Linked DNA regions of Homo sapiens: all the other regions are linked to region 1. Evidence: promoter capture Hi-C in 16 types of primary human blood cells and fetal thymus (Javierre and others, 2016). All regions are on one chromosome and are shown on one strand. The core of a region is centred on a gene start or on the middle of the fragment in contact, and the rest is flanking DNA. Distances in the headings are between cores, read along the strand shown.

The links. The method cuts DNA at HindIII sites, captures the fragments that hold promoters and counts their contacts. A CHiCAGO score of 5 or more calls a contact.
Region 2: a contact is called between the fragment with the promoter of GORASP2 here and the fragment with the promoter of ATF2 in region 1, in 1 of 17 cell types (activated CD4 T cells). The highest score is 5.1, in activated CD4 T cells.
Region 3: the fragment with the promoter of METTL8 here is called in contact with the fragment with the promoter of ATF2 in region 1 in 3 of 17 cell types (monocytes, activated CD4 T cells and total CD4 T cells); the score reaches 12.5 in monocytes.

Annotation. Positions count from the first base shown.
Region 1 is chr2:175,166,617-175,170,292 of GRCh38, forward strand. It overlaps ATF2 (activating transcription factor 2), which reads right to left and starts at 1,587. Exons shown (of 14, transcript NM_001880.4): 1 at 1,434-1,587. It overlaps MIR933 (microRNA 933), which reads right to left and starts at 1,093; the gene lies at 1,017-1,093. RefSeq lists a silencer at 1,536-1,605. The HindIII fragment of the contact is 6,773 bases long and covers 35-3,676 here.
Region 2 is chr2:170,927,376-170,931,051 of GRCh38, forward strand. It overlaps GORASP2 (golgi reassembly stacking protein 2), which reads left to right and starts at 1,878. Exons shown (of 10, transcript NM_015530.5): 1 at 1,878-2,028. The coding sequence starts at 1,966. RefSeq lists a silencer at 1,657-2,356. The HindIII fragment of the contact is 11,137 bases long and covers 1-3,676 here.
Region 3 is chr2:171,431,564-171,435,239 of GRCh38, forward strand. METTL8 (methyltransferase 8, tRNA N3-cytidine) reads right to left here and starts at 2,427. Exons shown (of 10, transcript NM_001321154.2): 1 at 2,320-2,427. It overlaps DCAF17 (DDB1 and CUL4 associated factor 17), which reads left to right and starts at 2,663. Exons shown (of 14, transcript NM_025000.4): 1 at 2,663-3,140; 2 at 3,520-3,623. The coding sequence starts at 3,015. RefSeq lists enhancers at 1,661-1,830, 1,808-2,368, 2,041-2,110, 2,930-3,489 and a silencer at 2,421-3,330. The HindIII fragment of the contact is 4,328 bases long and covers 2,417-3,676 here.

The DNA of each region.
Region 1 (3,676 bases), core at 337-2,836:
TAGGTTTGACTTTTTAACAAGCTTTTATAAATAAAGCTTTACCTTCATAATTTTGATTCAAGAGACCAAAGCTATATGGCTATTTAAAGATCAGAACGGCTGTTACTCACAATGATAACGCCAGTGGTCATGTTTCTTCAAATAGGACAAAAAGTGTGCTCAAAGAAAGTCAGTTTTTGTTCTGATTTTAAATGTATATCTTAAATGCATGCATTGTGACCGTCTCCATAATTTAAAACCTCTAAGAAATTTAAACTTTCACATTATAATTTAGGGATTAGTCAATCCCTTAGTACCAGTTAAATAATAGCCAGGAAAGCATTAGAAAACCTGAAGGTACATGTAAAGAAATGCTTTACATCACTATTTAAAATAGGTGTTGAATTTTAAGAGAAACATTTCTTTCACTAAAATTTCTGATGCCTAAGGTCCATCAGGAGTAATCTCTTTTACTCCATGATATTCACAGTAGTTTTGCTCTTGGCCTCACCAGTTTTAAGACTCTCCATTAAAGAAAGCCAATTTTATACTACCTAGGGGCACAAAAATAGTTCCCAGCTCCTCCTCTCTTTTTCCTCCTAGGTTCGGTTAAACGAGCGAACATAGAAAACACGTACACACACTCCCTTTCGGCCCTGGTCCCTAGGGCATTGATGAAAAGCAAATTATTTCTTTACATACGCTCTGCTGTCCACCCAGAGATTTAAAAAAAAAAAAATAAGGGAAAATACCAGAATCAGTCTGCACCCACACCTAAGCCCCGCCCCACCGGGAAAAAGCTGGGGGTAGCGGGATTGTGAGGGTGGCGGAAAGGACGGAAAAGGCCGAGACTTCCAGCTCCTAGGTTCTCCACACCATTCTTTCCTTCAAGCTGCACCGCAGCCAGGGACCCTGATTCTATTTTCAGCCGCGCCTCCCGATCCTCCTCCCCGCCACCATCACCAATACACGGTCCTCAATCGCTTGAATACTGGGTGGGGAGACCAGAGTGGGCCCTCTCCCCGCCCAACCCAAGGACTGTGGGTGGGAGAGGTCTCCCTGCGCACACGGCTGACTCGACGCGCGCCCCGAGGACCTCTGAACTGACCCAAGTAGGGTGAAGATAATTCGGAGGGAGGGGTCTAAGAGGGAGCCGTTATTCCTTTTTCCTCTGCCTTAGGAAAGCGCGCGAGAGGGAGGGGCCGGAACAACGAACGCTGGTTACCTAACGGTCCGGCCCAGCCAGTCAGGTTCCCAAAGCCCACACCGCGCGGGCCGCCGAGGTGGCAGCACAGCCACAATCGCCCCAAGGGCTAAGGAGCACGTCAGGAGCACCCGAGGTGATGGGAAACGGGGGGTGGGGACTGTGCTGAGCGACGTCGCCATGTTAGCGCCTTCTTTCTCCGTATCCCTACAGTCTCCAGCCCTGCTGACCTCTGCCCATCGTTACTCACCTTTCCAGGTCACTAGTTCATGATCCTTTCGGTCACCCGCGAGCCCTGAGCACAGCCGTGTTTACAAAGCACCCCTGGAGGAAAAGGCTGAACGGCACTTTAAAGGCCACGGGCTCCCACAGGCTTCCGTCCTCTCTCGCGAGATCGGACTGACAACCCCCGCCCGCTCGCCCCGCTCCCGGCATCCCCACCTTCCTTCTGGCGCCCCTCCCCTTCACCCACACGCCCCTTCTTGCCTTCCTTCTGAGGGAGCGCCTCCGAGTCAGGTGATTCCGTCAGGCTTAAGGAGAAGAAGGCGGGTCTTCGGCAGGGCGGGTAGAGGGGACGGGCATCAAAGAGCACTCGGGCGCTCATGATTGGACAAGGAGCCCGAAGGGCGGGAAGCAGTTCTGGAGGGGGCGGGACCAGAGGGCCCAAGGAGCGTTACTTCTGTAAACCCGGAGCTGTGGAAGACTGTGATTGGCTGTCGGCTGGAGGAGGGCGCGGGTGCAGGCGGCGGTGAAGGGCTAGGCAGGGCTTTGGCGGTGTGAGGGGAGGAAAGGTGGTGAGCTCCGGAAAGGCTGCTAGAGGGAAAGCAGGATGGGTCCTCCGAGCCCAGCCCCAGGAGCCGGGTGTCTCCGTTTCCGTCACTTCCCAGCACTAGGTAGGGAGGTGGGTAAAAGTAGGCTGCGTTCCTCAGCCCACCCCTTGGCTCCCCGGGAGCCTGAGGCGGGGAGCTTCGGGTTAGGTGAGGTTTGGGGGAGGCGGAGTTTGCTGGTAATTGCCCATCCCTCCCCTCCAAAAAACCCCACACAACTTAAAGATTTTAATATTAACTGTAAGGATGTTGGTTATTCAATAAATAGGCACAAGTTGAAAAGTATGATCAGAGGCCTCTGTGAGAATTTACATTATTCAATAAAAGATTTTCAGTGTCTTATTTTTTCCATTTATTAAATACTGATTTCTAGTCTGGAACAAAATTATGAACTAGTTTATATATTAACATAAAATACACTCTCAAAATTGTTGAAAGGTTTTGGGGGATAGTATGAGAGTTAATGAGCCTGAAGTTCAAGAATGATATCTGGCATAAAAGTGAAATTGTAATGGCATTGACATTTTAACAGGTAGGTCTCTGGACCGCATACATGTGTATAAGCCAACTCAGTCCTCTTTTAAAACTAATTTTAGTTAAGAAACATTAAGCCAAATTATTAACACTTTCCTACTTAAAATGAAAGTACCGTCCCCATATAGTAACAGTAATGTAGTAGTGCCATTGTAGTGTAACACTAATTATGTCAGCAAAACCTCACAGTTCAGATTACTCATGATGGAAATGGTGGACAAAATGTTTGATTGACATCACAATTGTTAGGTCTAGAACGCATTGATTAAATAGATGCTTCTCTCTCCATCTCCCAAAACAACTAATGTGAGAAAAAGAACTGCAAATGTTACGACATTTCAAAAGAAGTTTGGGTCAATTAGAATAGATTTTTTTAAAAAAATTGTTTTTCCATTTGAAATTTTTTCCAGTGTTGATTCAATTGGGCAGTAGCTTTGGTTTTAAATTTCTCATTGCTACTTCTCCAGTCTGTTGTCAAGCAGTTAGTTATCTACATGATGCATTCGAGAAACACATTATTTTAAAGAAAGTCTTTCAGTTCTTTTTAGACAAGAGAAGAACTGTTTAGTGATATGAACAGTACTCTGATCTGTTTTGATAATTCAGTTTTAGCTAATTTTCTAAAGAGAGGGTATACCTAAAGTGAGAAAAAAAAATAAGATAGGCGCAGGAAACAGGTGGAAACTATGCCGATCTGTTATATATGCATTTTGGCAGCCCGGCATTTAACAAAGGGTCTCACTTTATCCACATATTTCTAGTTCCACAGCAGTTTGTTTACTATAGTTTTTCTACAAGTGGGGAAAACATTCAGCATTGTCAAAATGAATGTAGTTACCATATTCAGGTCTGATTCCATGAACTTGTCTCACTACTTATTCATATCCTCATAAAATGCCACCCTTTTCCATCTTTGTTCTCACTTTTGCATTCCTCAATATCCCCAAGAGTCCTAAAATTCTTTACAGTCTTCTCTTTACAAACGCAGGAAACTTCTTGTAGACCTCTTCTTTGCCTGTCTTGTTCCATGATGCATCTACCCAACTTAGTTCTAAGAGAATTAGTGAGGGTCTAGTGAATCTCCTTTAAGAACCCAGCATAACTGCTAAATAAAACTAATATTCCTTAGATA
Region 2 (3,676 bases), core at 628-3,127, 4.2 Mb before region 1:
AGGGCTGGACTTGCCCATGGACCACCAACGATCCACAGCCTGGGTTCTATAGGCCGCGGCTGCCATCAGACATATGGGAGACAACTGGTCCAAAAATTTTGACCACTGAACATGGCAGCAGCTTCCATCATAAAGAGGGTTATAATTGCCAAGCAGAATGAGAACATTATAATTAGATCTAGTTCTTCCATTTATTCTCTTGCATTAAATGTATTAATTTGTTGAATTAGCTGCTAGGCATTCTGGTAAATATCAAGAACATAGAGCCAACTCCACTGCAGACCCTGTCCTTGAGGAGCCTAATAACTGGAGATTTCATTTATGGATTTATGGATTTATTAGGCCTCCTAAAAATCTGCTATTCACTTACCGATAGCAAAGAAAATTATTTTTAAATTTTAAATAATATTTTCTTATTACAAAAGCACTTCATGAGCATCATAGAATATGGAACCAGCCAAAACAAAAAATAAAATATCTCTGTCACCACCCAGAGATCACCACTGTAACCCTTGGTTCATATTCTCCTCCCACATCTTCATATGCATACATACATATTAATCTGTATTTTGAGGACATGTTTTTCATTTTGTCTACAGACACATCCCGTCTTGTAACCAGCTTTTAAAAAAGACAATAATTTCCACGTTTCCATGTGAATAACTACTCTTCTAATACTCAGTACATATTCAAATTTCTCCAAATGAACCAAAAATGTCCTTTACGCTTATTTCTCCAAGTTGGCCCCCAACTCAAGCCCTTGCAATGTGTCTCTTGGTTATATTCTTCGGGTTCCTTTTAATCTGGCATAGGCCCTTTCATAGGACTCTGACTCGACAAAGAGAACTGGCCAGCTGTCCTGAAGGAAGGCCCACTTCCTGTATTTGCCTGGTTCCCTGTGGTGTCATTTTACTTGCTCCTCAATTCCCCTTACTTCCTGTAAACATCAAACTCAAGATGCCATAGAGGCAAGTTAACCACCTTGGGCTAGAATACTTCATGGGCGATAGCACGTACTTTACATTGCATCACATAGGAATCCACATAATACCTGGTTGACGCAACATCAGTCCAACTGACCACAAAGCAACTAGGGGTTTCAGAGGGAGTACACGTAAGGGGCAAAAGCAGCAACGGAATACGACAACGGAATAAGCATGAATACGACCTGGCTACCTGAAGGAGGTAGGACGGGGAACCGAGCAGCAGCAGGTGGTGGAATGCCAGGGAAATCCAACCGTGCTTCCCACGCTGGCATCGCTCTGATTATGACCAATCCTCTAATCTTATTCTCACAATTAGGGAGGAAGAAAAAAAAACAAACCCAAACCAAAAAAGAAGTTGGTAGGTGACTCTGTGAGACTACTGTTTTATAAAGGGAGCGTTTCCTTTTATAAAATTTAGCTGAGCAGATGCTAGGCAGCCCACAGGAGGCCACTATTCCCCTCAGCTGTACAGTTTGGGAAAATACCTACACACCCGGAGAACAGAGAGCTTGGTGTGTGTTGAGTTCGCTCCTGTTCATCAGCAGCCCTTTCCCCGCCTCTGGCCACCAGGGGGACCTGCAACCAAGTATGTGTTCTTTCAGGCGAGCGGGAACGCGTCTGCATAAATCTAGTCCAATCCAGGGCCCCGTAGCAAGGCGCCAAAGCTGGGGGAAGCGCATTTCTGTTCTCTCGCGAGCACGACGCGGTGCCTCCCAGTCCTCCTCCGGCCCTCCCTCTCCGCCCTCCCGGCCCGCGAGCGCTCGGGCCCCTTCCAGTGGCTCGCGGCAGGTGGCGCTGTCTGCGGCGTCGCAGCGGCCCGGGCTGCAGCAGAGACGATCTCCCGGCGGGCTGTGCGGCCCGGCTCTCCGGCGGCAGCGAGTGCCACGTCCCAAGTGCTACGCGGAGGATTAGAGCAGGCGGTGCGCTGGGGGCGGGAGCAGCGCGGAGCCCGGCTCGGCCACACCGATCGCCCGCCGCCATGGGCTCCTCGCAAAGCGTCGAGATCCCGGGCGGGGGCACCGAGGGCTACCACGTTCTGCGGGTAAGGGCTCCGACGGCGGCCGGGGAGCTGCGGGCTGGAGGCGGGGCCGGCCGCGGGGAGGCGGAGGCCCCCATGGGCTCCTTCACGGGGCAGCCAGGCCCGATCCCGCGAAGGAGCGGCGGTCGCGGGCGCTGCCTTGGTCGAGGCTGGTTCCGGAGGCCGCTCGCATCCCACCTCCGCGGAGCGCCCTGGGCACGGGGTCCGCGGCTGTAGGAGGACGGGCTGGAGCTGGAGGCGGCTGCCGGCGACTCGGCCAGGGGGCGGCCCTGGGAAGGGGGGACAACCTTGCTCTTTTTCCGCACGGCCTTCTCTCTCCTCCACCCCCCCTCATTTTTAGCTTCCAAAGTTAGGAAGGGCGCGGAGGCAACGTCTCCAAAGTGGTGACTGTGAAGGCAGCCTTTGCGCTTTCCTAGGAGAGGGATCCGGACCCGCAGTCCGGAGGCGGGGCCTGCGGCGGCAGGTGTTAAATCACCTCGGCGCCGGCCGAGTGGCCTGAAAGACCAGCAGGGCAGGAGACGGAAAACCAAATGGCCTGGAAGTAGGTTCGACGGACTTAAACAGACTTGATTTTGACCAGACTTTTCCTTTCCCGTGCCACTCCTGACCCTCCCAAACCTTCTCAAGATTTCCTGGAGTGGGAACTTCCGTTCTGTTCCGATTGCTGAGGGTGTGGTTTAGATTATAAGGTTTAGATCCACAGTGGTAAAGAGGTAGTGCAGAGAAATTTTTTTTAAAAATCGGAGTATATAAAGGAAAACAACCCTAGCTTAACTTCCAGGACGCAGAGAAACATAGTATCTCAAAAGGCGTCAGCTAAGCCCCTACCTATGAACGGCCTGGGCCTGGGTGGTACAAAGCATGTGGTCTTTTCCTCATGGAACCGGGCGACTTTAGAAGTAGCATTGATGGTTGTTTGCTGTGACACCTGTGTGAGTGTTAACATGAACAGTCAACAGAGTGGCCGCAGCGTGTAGCGCCATTTAGGGGTGTAATAGAGTGTCACTCAATATTAGCTCCTCACAGGCAAGAACGTTTTCACTGAAAGTAAGAGAGTGCACTTCCTGGTGCTACCTTCATTTCCTGCCCTGGGTCCCATGTTTTAGGTGAGACACATTCTTAAATTGCCCAGCTGTCTATGTGATAGGGCTGAGACAGATCATCTTTCTGATCTTCCGGATTATCGTGTCTATTGCCTTTCCATTACACTAAAAATCCCTCCTCTGCCATACTCTTAGTAGGAAAGGGTGATTTTTTTTTTCCCCGAAAGGAAAAGGGAGCCTATAAATAAACCGTATTATCTTCCTATCCCCTTCTGCTAACCAAACACCCAAGAGCCACACTGAGAGAGGAAATGGAAGGAGAATTGTCAGTTCCCAAATGTGAGGTGAAAGCTGTGCTTTTCTTTCTATTATCTGGTCTGATTTTGAGTTCTCTACCCTGGGATGTTACCCAGTATTACCAGCTGTTTCTCACAGTGACCGATTGTGGTCATGAATCCTTGGGGATTCATGATATTTTTATAATACATGCACTCAGGGAAACTCAGTAAAACACATTAGTGTTAATAAGCAAAAAAAAAAAAAAAAAGTCGCGTGTTTGAAAGAAAGCCATACACATCAAAAGGATTCCAACTTAGTGACTGCATTCC
Region 3 (3,676 bases), core at 1,177-3,676, 3.7 Mb before region 1:
TCTGTCCTCCTCACCCTCCGATTGTTAGTGTAATCTCATTCTTGGACACAGGACAAGAGCTCAGGATGCCACCAAACATGGGTAGGAAGAAGAGAGTAACACGGTAGCTCTCTGCCCCACCAGCAGCGCCTGGTAGCCACCCTATGCAACAAGAAGCAGGGCGGGGGGCCAGGCCAGCCCCAGGGCCATGGGCGGGAGTGGGGTAACAGGACTGATAGGGCTGTTAACATGCCCCTGTTCGTCAGGCTGCAGAGGGCAGATCTAAAAGAGCTGTTAGCATGCTGTAACACCCACCTCTGGGGCTTCTGGGTTGCCTGACCCATTTGGTTACCACCACCTTCCCCTAGTCTGGACTCCAGAGCCCACTGTGGGAGTCACTTGTGACATGCCTGGTCCAGCCGCAAGCGGTGCACGGAGCCAGCTCCTGTGCCGGCACTTGGAGCAACCAGCTGGATACCACACAACTCTGCACTCACCAGCTCAGACACCCTCTCCTGCCAGGGGCTGAGCCCACAGTCAGGTGGCCACAGGATCCACACCTGCGTGCAAGCCAGGAGTGGCCCAGTGGGCCAGTTGTGCAGGGCACCTCCTGTGGCAAGCCCAGCCCGAGCAAGGCCTGGGTAGGTCTCCAGCTGCGGAGGTCTCCAGTGGCAAAGCAACGTCAAAAAAAAAAAATCCTGTGTCACAAGTAAGGCAGAAATTAAGAGACTACTTAATAATGTGATAAAAAATGGTGAGGCCCTAAATTACTTAGGTGAAATGAAGATGAGATGGATAAGAGTCTAAAGGACTTGGTTGTGGGTGAGGAACAGCAAGGCATCCAGGATGACTCTCCCTTGGTGACGACTTGGTGGTGAAATAAAGGCCACAAGAAAGAAGACAAACAAGTGGGGGCAAAGAGGAAAGAGAAATGAGAGAGTTGATGAATTCAATTCAGAAATGATTTGAATTTCATTTAAGCCAAAGAAAACCCAGTTATCTTTTCTGGGTTCCAGTTTTCTCAGTGACAGCTGCATTCATGAATTACCAAATTAACTATTGTAGCACTCTCTAAAAATATACAAAGCACTCTACCGTATGCTGTAAATAAGTCATGAAAAATCAGCAAAAGCTCGAGCCCTGAAGGAAATTCAGCAGGGTTAAAAAGAGATATGGCCAATGTTTACTAAACACTTAAACTGTGACCCAACACACTCACCCAGTACTGTAAGTACTCACTTAATGTCATCAACAGATTTTTGGAAACTGACTGTAAGCAAAATGACATATAACAAAACCATTTTTACCATAGGCCAATTGATATAAACAAAAGTTAAGTTCCTATAACATATTTCTGGTCACAAAAACATCACCAAACTCCTAAATACAAACCAAAACACTTCTAATATTAAACATTGAAATAAATGGGAGCTATACATACATTTAAGGAAGATTAATAAAAACAAGTAAGATAGTTATTTACCTAATTATTCCAGTTCAGGGTCGAGGGTGGCTGAAGCCTATCCCCTCAGCTCAGGGTGCAAGGTGGGAACCAACCCTTGGACACGACGACATTCCATCGCAGGGAGCACTCACACTCACACTCAGACAGGAAACACAGACAAGGCCAATTCATCCAGCCTGCACTGAGATGTGGGAGGCAGTACCCTGGGGTACCTGGTGAAAACCCATGCAGACGTGGGGAGAAGGGGCAAGATCCACACAAACAGTAGCCCCGGTAGGAAATTATTATTTTTTCTCATCAAGTTATACAAAATGACACTGAACGAAAAAATGCGATTCAAGGACCTGCTGTACTGTACTTTTTGCTCTGCCAGTCAGGTGCGATCGCTGGCTTTCTTTGAGCACCTATGAACAAGAGGTAGCATGCCCAAGTCCACGTGGGAGATACAGCGGCCCCACCCTTAAGGGACTTAGAGCATGGCGGTGGGACACATGTGGTGCAAGCTTGCTGAAAGTTTAGTGTGCTGGGAACTTTGAACATACAGGCAGGGCTAGTTAACAAAGTATATCTTTTACTTAGAGACATCGACGAGGAATATCTTAGGCCGTCCAATAAGAATGTAAGCATTTCATATTTTATTCCCTATAAAGAAAAAAGAATGGAGGCGAGAGGAAATGAAATGAAGCAATTATCGCAAAACCAGTCAGTGTCCCCGCAGGCCACCCAAGGACAAGCCTCCGGGAAAGAGTAACTCAATCCCAGTTTGGAGGGTGAAACTAAGAGTGAATGGGAAGCCAGCATCTTCCTAATACAAAAGCACAGTTTACCGTCCCCCTCAGCCAACATGCGGCTGAAGGGAAAGCCGCGGGGCGTACCTTTAGCACGGGACGCTGCTTTGGGGGGATCGCCCTCGACACAGCGCCCCTCCCGGCACCTGGCCAGAACCTCCCAGGGCGAAGGTCGGGGCCGAGAAGCTTGTGAGTACCGGGGCAGTGAGGGAGGGATCCCTAAGTGCAGGGCGCACACACGGGGCGGAGACCTGGAGGCGGCAGCACCGCGCCCCCAGGGCTCTGCCCAGCTAGCCACTCGCAGCACAGAGAAGCGCGCCCGCAAGACAGCGCAGCCTCCGCGGGCCGGAGGAGGCGGGGCCGCGGCAGGCAGAGGCAGGGCCGGGCAAGCCCTCGCTCCCCGCCGCCTGACGGGAATTGTAGTTCCTGGGAGAAGCCGGGCTGCCTCACGAGGCACTAGGAACTACATTTCCCGGTGAGAGAGCGGCTCCGGCCGGCCGCGCGGTACCGGAGCGTCGCACTGTCAGCGGCCAGAGAGCCTGGGGCAGATCGAAAAGGGAGTGCTTCTTCCCTTCTCTCCGCGCTCTGGCGGTGCAAGCGGCTCTGCTTTCCCTCGCCCCGCCGTCGGGTGCTCCCTGCCCGCCTCCCCGTGTCAGCTTTCCCTGGGCCCCGCCGGGAAAGTCTGGGCCTCGAAATTCGAAGGCAGCGGCGGCTGCCCAGCACGGGAGTGTGGGGCGCGCCACTCGGCGGCCCAGCCTACCCAGGGCCCGGCCCGCGCCTCCATGGGCCCGACCCGGAAGCCCAACGTGTGCAGCCGGCTGAGTCGCCGGGCGCTGGGCTGCTTCTCGCGCGACGCAGGCGTGGTGCAGAGGACCAACCTGGGCATCCTGCGGGCGCTGGTGTGCCAGGTGACCGCCAGCCGGCCGGGGCGGGACGGAGGGCCGCGGGCGCGCGGCGGCCGAGCCTCCTGCGGGGATGCGGTTTTAACGCGCTGGGGCCTCCCTTTATAGGGTCACATGTGATGGGGAGGAGGATACAAGCCCGGAATCTGGGATAGGTGGTAATAGGGCCACCAGCTGCTTTTAGTTTTACGCTTCTTATGTCTTACCTGGAAACAATTATTCTAAAAGTTGGTCACCTCATTAAGCCAAAACATGAGGGCAGAGTGGAGGAAGGATGCAAAAAGTTTTAAAATAATATAGGTGACATTATGTTGCTTTGAAAATTTAAAATCTAACTTAAAGCCTAAGAGTTCTTTCCTGAACGGAAATTCTTTATGTCTTTTAGGAAAGTACTAAATTTAAGAATGTCTGGACAACTCATTCCAGGTCACCTATAGCCTATGAGAGAGGAAGAATATATTTTGACAATTATCGGCGCTGTGTCAGCAGGTAACTTTTTATTGATAATTTTGCTGTAATTCACCTCACTGTTGATCTTAACT